2 separate regions of the Homo sapiens genome follow, and region 1 is linked to region 2. The links are contacts of gene promoters, found by promoter capture Hi-C in blood cells and fetal thymus (Javierre and others, 2016). All regions are on one chromosome and are shown on one strand. The core of a region is centred on a gene start or on the middle of the fragment in contact, and the rest is flanking DNA. Distances in the headings are between cores, read along the strand shown.

Region 1 (5,403 bases), core at 1,680-4,179, 390 kb after region 2:
CTACAAAAAATTTAAAAATGATCCAGGTATGGTGGTATGCCTGTAGTCCTAGCTACTTGGGAGGCCTAGATGGGAGGATTACTTGAGCACAGGAGTTCGAGGCCCCAGTGGACTATGATCATAGCACCACACTCCAGCCTGGATGACAGAATGAGACACTGTATTAAAAAAAAAAATTAGGCCGGGCGCGGTGGCTCACGCTTGTAATCCCAGCACTTTGGGAGGCCGAGGCGGGCGGATCACGAGGTCAGGAGATCGAGACCATCCTGGCTAACACGGTGAAACCCCATCTCTACTAAAAATACAAAAAAATTAGCCGGGCGTGGTGGCGGGCGCCTGTTGTCCCAGCTACTCGGGAGGCTGAGGCAGGAGAATGGCGTGAACCTGGGAGGCGGAGCTTGCAGTGAGCCGAGATTGCGCCACTGCACTCCCACCTGGGCCACAGAGCGAGACTCCGTCTCAAAAAAAAAAAAAAAAAAAAAAAAATTAAAAAGTGCAACATGTAGGCTGCTGGGAGGTTATGGGCACAGACTGGTGGAACCAACACAAAAAACAAAAAAAGTGCAAGGTGAAGCAGCAAGTACTCATGTAGAAGCTGCAGCAAGCTATCCAGAAGATCTAAGATCACTGATGAAGGTGGCTACACTAAGCAACAGATTTTCCGTGGAGACAAAACAGCCCCTTCTATTGGAAGAAGATGCCATCTAGAATTTTCATAGCTAGAGAGAAGTCAATGCTTGACTTCAAAACTTCAAGGGACAGGCTGACTCTCTTGTTATGGGCTAATACAGCTGGTGACTTTATTGAAGTCAATGCCCGTTTACCATTCCAAAAATCTTAGAGTCCTTAACAATTATGCTGAATCTCCTCTGCCTATGCTCTATCAATGGAACAAAGCCTGGCTAACAGCACATCTGTCTACAGCATGGTTTACTGAATATTTCAAGCCCACTGTGGAGACCTACTGCTCCAAAAAAAAGACTCTTCAAAATATTATTGCTCAGTGACAATGCACTTAGTCACCCAAGAGCTCTTATGGAGATGTATAAGGAGATGAAAGTTGTTTTCATGTCTACCAACACAACATCCATTCTAAAGCCCATGGATAAAAGAGTAAATTCGACTTTCTAGTCTTATTATTTGAAAAACATGTTTTGTAAGGCTATAGCTGTCATAGACAGTGATTGCTCTGAAGGATTTGGGCAAAGTCAACGGAAAACTTTCTGGAAAGGATTCACCGATCTACATGCCACTAAGAACATTTGTGATTCATGGAAAGAGGTTGAAATATCAACAGTAACAGGTTTGGAAGAAGTTGACACCAACCCTCATGGATGACTCGGAGGGATTCAAAATTTCAGTGGAAGAAGGAACTGCAGATATGGTGGAAATAGCAAGAGAACTAGAATTAGAAGTGGAGCCTGAAGATGTGACTGAATTGCTTCAATCACAAAATAAAACTTGGATTAGGAATTTCTTCTTATGGATTAGCAAAGAAAGTGGTTTCTTGAAATAAAACTCACTCCTAGTAGACACGTTGTAAATATTGTTAAAATGATAACAAAGAATTTAGAATATTACGTAAACTTAGTTGACAAGGCAGCAGCAGGATTTCAGAGGATTGACTCCAATTTTGAAAAAAGTTCTAATGTGGTAAAATGCTTTCAAAAAGCACTGCATGCTGCAGAAAAATATTTTGTGATAAGAAGAGTCAATTTATGTGGCAAACTTCATTATTGTCTTATTTTAAGAAATTGCCACACAGTGGCTCATGCCTGTAATCCCAGCATGTTGGGAGGCTGAGGTGGGTGGATCGTTTGAGCCCAGGAGTTCAAGACCAGCCTGGGCAATGTGGCAAAACCCCAGCTCGACAAAAAATTAGAAAAAATTAGCTAGACATGGTCATGTGAGCTTGTAGTTGTAGCTACTCAGGAGGCTGAGGTGGGAGGATCATGTGAGCCTGAGAAGTGGAGGCTACAGTAAGCCATGATCTTGCCAGTGCACTCCAGCCTGGGTGACAGAGTGAGACCCTGTCTCAAAAAAATAAAGAAATTGTCATAGCTATCCCAGCCTTCAACAAACACCACCACTTTGATCAGTCAGCAGCCACCAACATCAAGGCAAGACTTGCCATCAGCAAAAAGATTACAACTTGCTGAAGGCTCAGATGACCACCAGCATATTTTTTAGCAATAAGGTATTTTTAAATTAAGGTATCTATATATATTTTTTTAGACATAATGCTATTGCACACTTAATAGTCTACAGCATAGTGGAAAGATAAGTTTTGTTGTTGTTTAGAGGCAGAGTCTCACTCTGTCTCCCAGGCTGGAGTTCAGTGGCACAATCACAACTCATTGTAACCTTGAACTCCTGGGCTTGAGTGATCCTACAAACTCAGCCTTCCAAAGTAGCTAGGACTACAGGTACACACCACCAAGCCGAGCTAACTAAAAAAAAAATTTTTTTGTAGAGATGGGATCTCACTATGTTCCCCGGGCTGGTGTCGAACTCCTGGCCTCAAGCAATGTTCCTGCCTGGGCCCCAAAGCACTGGGATTACAAGTGTGAGCCACCATATCCAGCCATGGAAAGATAACTTTTATACGACCTGGGTAACCAAAAAATTTGTGTGACTCACTTTATTGCAATATTTACGATAAAGCTTAGAACCAAACTTGCAATGTCTTCAAGGTATGCCTGTACTTTAAAACACATGGTTTAAAACTATATTTTGCAGATAATTAAATTTCTTTCTCAGATTTTTAAAAAATCACTAAACCCACAAAGTTTTCCATTTACCACACAACATTTATTTAAATCTGGGGAAAAAAACCCACAGTTCATTTTAGAGATGACAAGATCTTCAAACCCAGAGAAAAGAGAAGGTTCTGGAGACTGTGATAAAGAGCTCAGTTCACATCTTTCAGTTTGTAACCAAATAAAGAAAAAAAAATCCCTAAAGACCTAAATTAGATAAGTTCTTATACTGACATTTCATTAGGGTCATATGTCCTGTCTTAAATTTGTATTTAGAGAAACACCTCTTTGTCAATAAACTGAAGAGATACTATCAAGCAGGACAAATGATTTGCTTTAAACTTAACCCTAAAAACTCAATTAAATGTACCACGGGCAATTTGCCTGCCTTTTTTTCTTTTCCAGAAAGGAGAATCCTAAATCATTAAAGCTTTATTTAAAAACTTCTAAATCACAGAATTATGGGGACTGTGATTATGATTAAAGTTTCATTAAAAGTTCAAAATGGGGCTGAGTGCGGCGGCTCACACCTGTAATCCCAGCACTTTGGGAGGCCGAGGCGGGCGGATCACCTGAGGTCAGGAGTTTGAGACCAGCCTGGCCAACATGGTGAAACCCCTTCTTTACTAAAAATATAAAAAAATTAGCCGGGTGTGGTGGCAGGCGCCTGTAATCCCAGCTACTTGGGAGGCTGAGGCAGGAGAATCGCTTGAACCCGGGAGGCGGAGGTTGCAGTGAGCCGAGACGGTGCCATTGCACTCTAGCCTGGGCAACAAGAACAAAACTCTGTCTCAAAAAATAAAAAAATAAATAAATAAATAAATAAATAAATAATCAAATAAAATTAAAGTTCAAAATGAATGGATCATGGTGGGCTGTTTCCTTCCTTCCTTCCTTCCTTCCTTCTTTCTTTCTTTTTTGAGATGGAGTCTCGCTCTGTCGCCAGGCTGGAGTGCAGTGGCGCGATCTCAGCTCACTGCAACCTCCGCCTCCCAGGTCCAAGCAATTCTCCTGTCTCAGCCTCCTCAGTAGCTGGGACTACAGACGCATGCCACCATGCCCAGCTAATTTTTGTATTTTTAGTACAGACGGGGTTTCACCATGTTAGCCAGGATAGTCTTGATCTCTTGACCTTATGATCTGCCTGCCTCGGCCTCCCAAAGTGCTGAGATTACAGGCGTGAGCCACTGCGCCCGGCCTTTTATCTTTCTTTATAGCTATTTTGACCAAAAAAAAAATTTTCCCCTTTTCACAGGTGTTGATGAAATTTTTTATAATTAATAAATATTATAATCAGGATAAAACCCACTTCCATTTTGAAAAGTAAAAGAAAATGATTAAGAAGTCTCAATAAGAACTAAAAAAGCACCAGGTGCAGTAGCTCACGCCTGTAATCCCAGCCCTTTGGGAGGCCAAGGTTGGAGGATTACTTGAGCCCAGGAGTTCACGACAAGCCCAGGCAACAAAGTGAGATCCCCCATCTCTACAAAAAATTAAAAAATTAGCTGGTCGTGGTGGTGTGTGCCTGTAGTCTTAGCTACTCAAGAGGCTAAGGTGAGAGGATCACTTGAGCCTGGGAGGTTGAGGCTGCAATGAGCTATGATCACGCCACTGCACTCTAGTTTGGGTGACAAGGGTCTCTTAAAACAAACAAAAGAACTAAAAAAGAACATAAGAAACTAATAGAAAATATACTGAGTACTGAGACTGCTGTCTTTGTTTTAGCTTCCTTTGTTAATATGCTTGTGTAATAAGATAGAGGGAAATAAACTTTACTTGAACTTTTACAATAGAAAGAAAAAGAAAATCATATCTAAACCAGAGTACTTTCTAAAACTGTGGTTCAAGGACTGCTGGGTATCCCCAAGACCCTCTCAGGGGATCTGCAAAGTTAAAACTATTTTCATAATGCTAAGACGTTATATGCCTTTTTCACTCTCATTTGCTCACAAGTGTACAGTAGAGTTTGGGCATAGTATCAAAGAACGATTATGATTATCTCCAAGAGCCAACAAAATCCTCTTTGCTTTCCAACTACCTATTTCCATGAGCTTTCATTTTCTTCATATGCTTCTACCAAAACGCCATACCATACCACAACAGACTGAATATAGAAATAGATATAAAAATCCAGGTGTCAACCCTTTTCACCAAAATGATGATGCTGAAAGCAAAGAAGGAAATCCCTGCTCCTCCCAAAGCCAAATCCAAAGCTAAGGCTTTTAAGGCCAGCAAGGCAGTGTTGAAAGGCATCCAGTCACACACACAAAAAAATATCTGCAGGTCACCTATGTTCCAGTAGCCCAACACACTTTGGCTTTGAAGGTAGCCCAAACATCCTCAGTAGAGAACCTGCAGGATATACAAGCTGGACTATTATGCCATCAAGTTCCCCTTGACCACTGAGCTGACCATGAAGAAGACAATACCACATCTGTGTTCACTGTGGTTATCAAAGCCAACAAGCACCAGATCAAACAGGCTATATGAAGGTCTGTGACACTGACATGACCACGATCAACACCCTAATCAGGACTGATGGAGAGAAGGCAGCCTATGTTTGACTGGCTCCTAACTATGATGTTTTGGATGTTGCCAGTAAAACTGGGATAACCTAAACTGAGTCCGAATAGCTAATTCTAAA
Region 2 (5,607 bases), core at 2,173-4,672:
AACAATGTAGACAATTTCCTACAGCCAAGGTGAAGAATTACAAAAAGGAAAATCAGAGTAACTGCATACATGTTTCTAAAGTGCTATAAAAAATCTAATGGATTGATGATATATAACAATATGGAGTAAAAATACAAACCTGAAATAATGAAATTAATTAGCACCATTAAAATACTTCTTTTCATCTTCAGGTAACACTGTTCACTAGCTTGAAATATATATATATATATATTTAAAATATGTTTTCGGTTGACATTTCTTGGGGGGGATGTCTTTTTTAGATTCAAAGACTAGTGCATATTCCTTGCTTTTTGCAGCTCAGTCTTTGCAGCCATACTTCAAAGGAAAATTTTTCATTGCATTCCTGCACCATCACATTCATTTGCAAAATATTTCCGTCTTTGTATTCTGTCCAAATGGGTCACTAACATTCTAAAACAGGATACCGACATTGGGGAGATAAGAAATGTGGCTTTGAAAATAGGCTGTGTTCAACAGGATTCTTAAGACAAACACAGAACACAACAAAAGCACAGTCTATGTACATTTATTTGGTGGTAAGCATCTTACAAATACGGGCTTTCTGTCAGGCAGTGCTCAGCCAATGTCCCAAACTGGCTAGTAGGGAATTAGTACACAATGTACACTGAAATGGTTTTTTAAAAAAATCAAAAACAAGTTGCCGCTGAAAAGAAAATACTGAATATTGAGCAAATTGCCATTCAGTTCCTTAGTGGATTACAGGTGTTAACATCTTCCTTAAGCTGTACATATTTTCATAATGAATACACAGTATGACATTTACAGCAGAAGCATTAAACAATTTGGGTGAAACCCCATTAAAACAGTCAAACTTGAGGAAACGACTTCTGTATTTCCAAAAAGCCATTTAAAGAAAGGTTTGAAGTAGCTCTTCCTGAATACTGCCCACAAAATAGCTGAGGGTGAGAATTTTAGGGGGTGTCTCAACTCCAGTAAAGTAGCATCCTCCCCACCTCCAAACACCAACTTAAGAATGGACATGTACATATAATTGGGCAAAGGAAAGTTTACAGGGGAGATCCCCATGCACCCCAAAAGCAGCAAAAATCCTCTTACATTTTCTGCCAGGTCTTGAATCTCCTTAAGTTTGACACCAATCACATAACTTTTAATTCACAGAATATACAGTGCAAAATATCTGACCCTATTGAGACAGAAGCTGTATAGGCGCCTGTGATGACAAGACAAAAAAAACATTGGCTACCAAAGGGTAGCCAGAATCCTTTGTGGACATTGAGACATGCACGCATTCACCGCGACTTTCCATAGGAATTACAAATCATATAGGATTCGTTAGGGTCTCCAGAGTTTTAAGGGGAAAAATCCTATTTTAGTGGGGAAAGTGAGAAGGATTTAAAGCTGACAGTCTTTGATCTCAAGGTTTATACCATATACATACCTGCTCTAGAGAGGGATATTACATTTCACTGTCCGCTCCTCTGGTGGAACATTGACTACAGGGAGAATTTTAGGGGATTAAAACATAGGAAGGAATGAAAGTAAACTTGCAAGTTGAAGAAAGCCCCACAGAAATTCCCATGATCTGTTTCCTCTAAGGCCAACCTCGAAATCATCCTGGTCTCTCGTCCCTCAGCAGCCAGGCCGCAGTGGCATCTGCAGCAGCAGCACTTGCCGGCTTTCTGAGGGGTGGCACTTATTGATGTGCCGGGTCAGCCCTGGAGAGCTAAAAAAAGTGGACGGGCAGTGCTTGCACGAGAAAATTTGCTGGGCACTCCCGTCAGATGGCCCGCTAGGGCCCGACGTTTCGGGAGGAGCCCCCGCCAGAGCGGGCAGGAGCAGCTCCTCGCGGACAGCATGCCACAGCCGGTGCTTCTCCCTGATATCTGCTGTAGGGAAGTGCGCTCCGCACAATGGGCAAGCGAAGGCAAGTGGGGCACCGCGTTCGGAGCCAAAGCCCGGCGCTAGCGCACGGGCCGAGCCCGCCTCGTGAGTGCTCAGGTGCTTGCGCAGATAGGCTTGGCGACGAAACTTTTTGTGGCAATATGGGCACACGAAAATCTCGGATCCCCTGCCACCACTGGTACTGCCCGGCACAGGTACCCGGCGCCCCAACACCCCCTCCGTGTAGGGGCCCTGAGGCAGCGGTGGCTCTGGATGCGTCAGCACCTGGAGGCCCTGCCTCGGGGCGCTGTCCGGGTGCTGATCCGCCCCGGAGCTGTCCCTGGCCTGCGGGTGCTGATCCGCAGTCCGCTCTATTCGGCTGTTCTCCTTTCCCTCCGCCAGAAAAGATGCAATGGCCCCGGAGTCCCGGGAGGACGAAGACGACGAAGAAGGCGGCTTCCCGTCGGCGGAGGAGACTGTGGCGGCGTTTGCAGCCGCAGGACGCGGCTTATGCCAGCGGCGATGGGAGGCCAGGTTCGCAGGACAGCTGAACACCTTGTCGCACTCAGGGCAGCGGTACTCTACGCGCACGATGCGGGAGCAGCGGTGCTGGGCCAGCGCGAAGGGGTCTGCGTACTGCTCCTTGCACAGCTGGCAGATGAACTCCCCCAGTGGCGTGCGGCTGCCCCCCAAGCCCCGGGACGGCGCTCCGGGCTCCTCCTCCTTGATCTTCAGGCCCAGGACAGGGGATGTGGTCACCTCATCGGCAAAGCTCAACTTCCTCATGGCCTTTGGCTTCTTGATTCCCGCGGCCGCGGGTCCAGACGCGCAGTCCGTGGGTGCCTTGCCGCGGCGCTCGCCGCCGGCCGCCCGCTTCAGACTCTGAAGGGCGGCCGAGAGGGGCGCAGGGTCCGGCTGAAGCGCGGGCTCTGGGAACGGCGCCCGAAGCGGCAGCAGAAACTGCTCCCCCGGGGTCGGTGCGGCTGCTGGCGCCACGGAGCAGGAGAAAGCGGCCACGGCGGCGGCGCCCCCGGGGAAAGACTCGGCGGAGACGGGCGAGCTGAGGCAGCGCTCCAGGAACGCCCGACGCAGCTCTGCGCCTGCCGGCTTCGCTGGACTGGGGCTGGGGCTGGGGCTGGGCCCGGGACCTTCCCTGCCACCCGCCCGCCACTCCGCGCCTTCCCGCCCGCCCGTCCCCGGGCTCACCCCAGCCGCCCGACATGGCGACCCCGACTGTTCCCGGGCCGCCTCCGCCGTCAACCCCTTTCCTGGTTCCTCTCGGGTGGGGGGTGTCGCCCGCTCCGCGCCGGGCAAGGAGGCGCTGGGAGCCTCCTCCAAGAAGGGCGGCGCCCCCTGGGGCCCCAGCAGAGGGAAGACACGCTCCGCAAGGCGAACTCGGTACAAGCCGCCTGTCCGTTTAGTTCGCTTCACCAGGAATCCCCTTGGCATGGTGGAGTCGAGAGCGCTCTGGGACAAGAGGAAAGGGGGCGCCACGGGGACTGAGAGCCGGCCAGCAGATGAACTAGAAGAGCTTCGCCGCGGCTGTCATGCCGGGGCTATCTTTATAGCTGAGACGCGGGCCGGGGTCCCGCCGGGCCTCCCCGGGCTGGCCCGGCCAATCAGGAGTGGGAGCGGGCGCCGGGGGCGGGGCTTTCTCCCGTGCCGATTCACTGGAGTAGACGAATCTGGCGGCGGCGGCGGCGCACGCCCAGCCCCGCCTCACAGCGCCGCGAACCTGCCCCTGTGGCCGGCTGGGTCCGCCTCCCCCTGCAGCCTCCCGGGCGAAGACGCCAGAAGGTAAGGTCCAGAGTGTGAGGGAGCTCGACACTCCCCGCCTTGGCTGCCTCCGCGGAGCGTCCCACTGGGGAGCCGGGCGAAAAGGCCACCTCACGACGCCCTCCGCTCGGGCCGGGACCCGGCTGCCCCCAACGCGAGGGCGTCTGGCTGAAAAGCTCCCGCTCTGCGCCGGACGGCCGAGCGGAAGGGGCGGTGGGCAGAAGGTGCGGCGGAGACCACGGGGTGGGTGTCCGGGAGGGAACCGGTGCACGTCCTCTGCGGGTATTGAGCTGATGAGAAGTGCGACCGAGCGGCCGGACAGCTGACTGCACCGCCCTGTGGCTGCTGTCGGCGGCGGGAGCACGTCCGCCCGCCGGTATCGATCGGGCCCGCGCGCGGCGGCGACACTCGAGAGTTCATCTCCGCAGAAGGGCTCTCAGCGCGGGAGAGCGTGCCTGCCCGCCGCCAGCCTCCGAGTCGGGACGCCCGAGCGCGGCTGGGTCCTGGGCGTCTGCGCTCTTAAGTGCTTCTCGATAGGAGCAGGAGTAGGGAGAGGAAAGGAGGATCTCATTTTCCACTGTCCTCGCATAAAGTGGTTTCTCTGTTCACACTTTCCACTTGTACTACCCAGAGTATGACTTAATTCCTAACCGGCCTGTTTAGCATGGAGTAGATTGAGTGAGAAATGCCGGCGGAATCAGCATTACAGCTGCTTCCCCGTACACCACAAGTGATACTTTGCAAAAGGTGTGCTGTAGAGCAAACTCAACAGATTTTCATCTGGCACCCTGCAATGCTCCCACCACTATTTTGAGAACTAGAAGAGGTTTGAAAGTGTTTAGTAGTAATTGAACTAGGCAACAATTAGACCATCTATGACAGATATAAAGTGCCAAGATCCATAATATAGGTAAATAAAGTGTGAGAACAGGAAGGGGAAAGACTATGTGCACAAGTCTCCTTACTAAACCAAATTGGAGAAAAAGACTGACAGAGGTGTTTTAAAAGTACACGATAGCATAACAGATGTAGTCATCAATAAAACACATTGTCTTTCTTCAGTGAAGTATTTTTACAGGGAGAACATTATTTTGAGAAAGATTTGGAAGTAATTATATATTAATCATTGACTATGTTATAGGCATTCTGCTTAAGTAATCTCTAATCTTCATACACACGCACACAACATGTACACACACAAACCAAAAAGGAGATATTATTTCTCTCTTTTTTCAATGTGGTGATTGAGCCATTTAGTTAGATAATGGGTAAAAGCCAAGCAGAGCTCAGATTCAAACTTGTTCTGGCTAATTCCAAAGCCCAGACTCTTTCCACTACACCAATGGCTTCAAACTATTTTTTTCCTTAATCACATCCCACAATAATAAATGTGTTCTATAGTATATACACACATGTAACTGAAACAAAAGTCTCACAAAATAATACTGTGGGTCCTAATCTATTTGTAAATTATGAAATCATACATTGAAATGTTTGCAGTGCATTCTCATATTTTTCATTGTATTGTATTTTGTTTCTTAAAAATAGCAGTCATAGAAAATACATTGATTTCATAATTTACAAATGGATTAGGACCCACAGTTTGAAAAACACTCATTATATTGTCTCATTAAATAGCATGAAATGATACAAAATTAAATAAACCTGATACTGCATAATCACAATATCTGAACCACTGTTTAAAATATTTGAGTCCTTTAGCAGTGTTGGTAAACTTAGTTTCCCAAATTGGTCATTTCTGACATGTCAGCTTATATGTGACTTCTAACTCAAATTCTCAATTCTCCTTTCCTCCTCATGATCCATACATATTGTGTGGTGTGGAAAATCTGATGTAATAATTTTAATACTTTAAGATAACCCCTTTTCCAGAGAGAGAAAGGACTCTTCCCCAGGGGCATAGTACTTTGTAAGAATTGCTGTCAG

What was found. Contacts are between HindIII fragments. The CHiCAGO score rates a contact against its expected background, and 5 or more counts as called.
Region 1: a fragment that was not itself captured here is called in contact with the fragment with the promoter of INSM2 in region 2 in 1 of 17 cell types (fetal thymus); the score reaches 5.6 in fetal thymus.

The regions. Positions count from the first base shown.
Region 1 is chr14:35,143,995-35,149,397 of GRCh38, reverse strand. The region is part of intron 4 of PRORP (protein only RNase P catalytic subunit); the gene reads right to left. The region is part of intron 4 of PRORP-PSMA6 (PRORP-PSMA6 readthrough); the gene reads right to left. It also overlaps the pseudogene RPL23AP70. Among named protein-coding and RNA genes, the nearest start is that of PRORP, 24 kb to the right of the region's middle. The HindIII fragment of the contact is 525 bases long and covers 2,667-3,191 here.
Region 2 is chr14:35,531,979-35,537,585 of GRCh38, reverse strand. It overlaps INSM2 (INSM transcriptional repressor 2), which reads right to left and starts at 3,422. Exons shown (of 1, transcript NM_032594.4): 1 at 532-3,422. The coding sequence starts at 3,333. The coding sequence ends at 1,633. RefSeq lists enhancers at 1,333-2,155, 2,326-2,475, 2,156-2,979, 2,980-3,803, 3,804-4,628 and silencers at 3,436-3,805, 3,906-3,985. The HindIII fragment of the contact is 12,180 bases long and covers 1-5,607 here.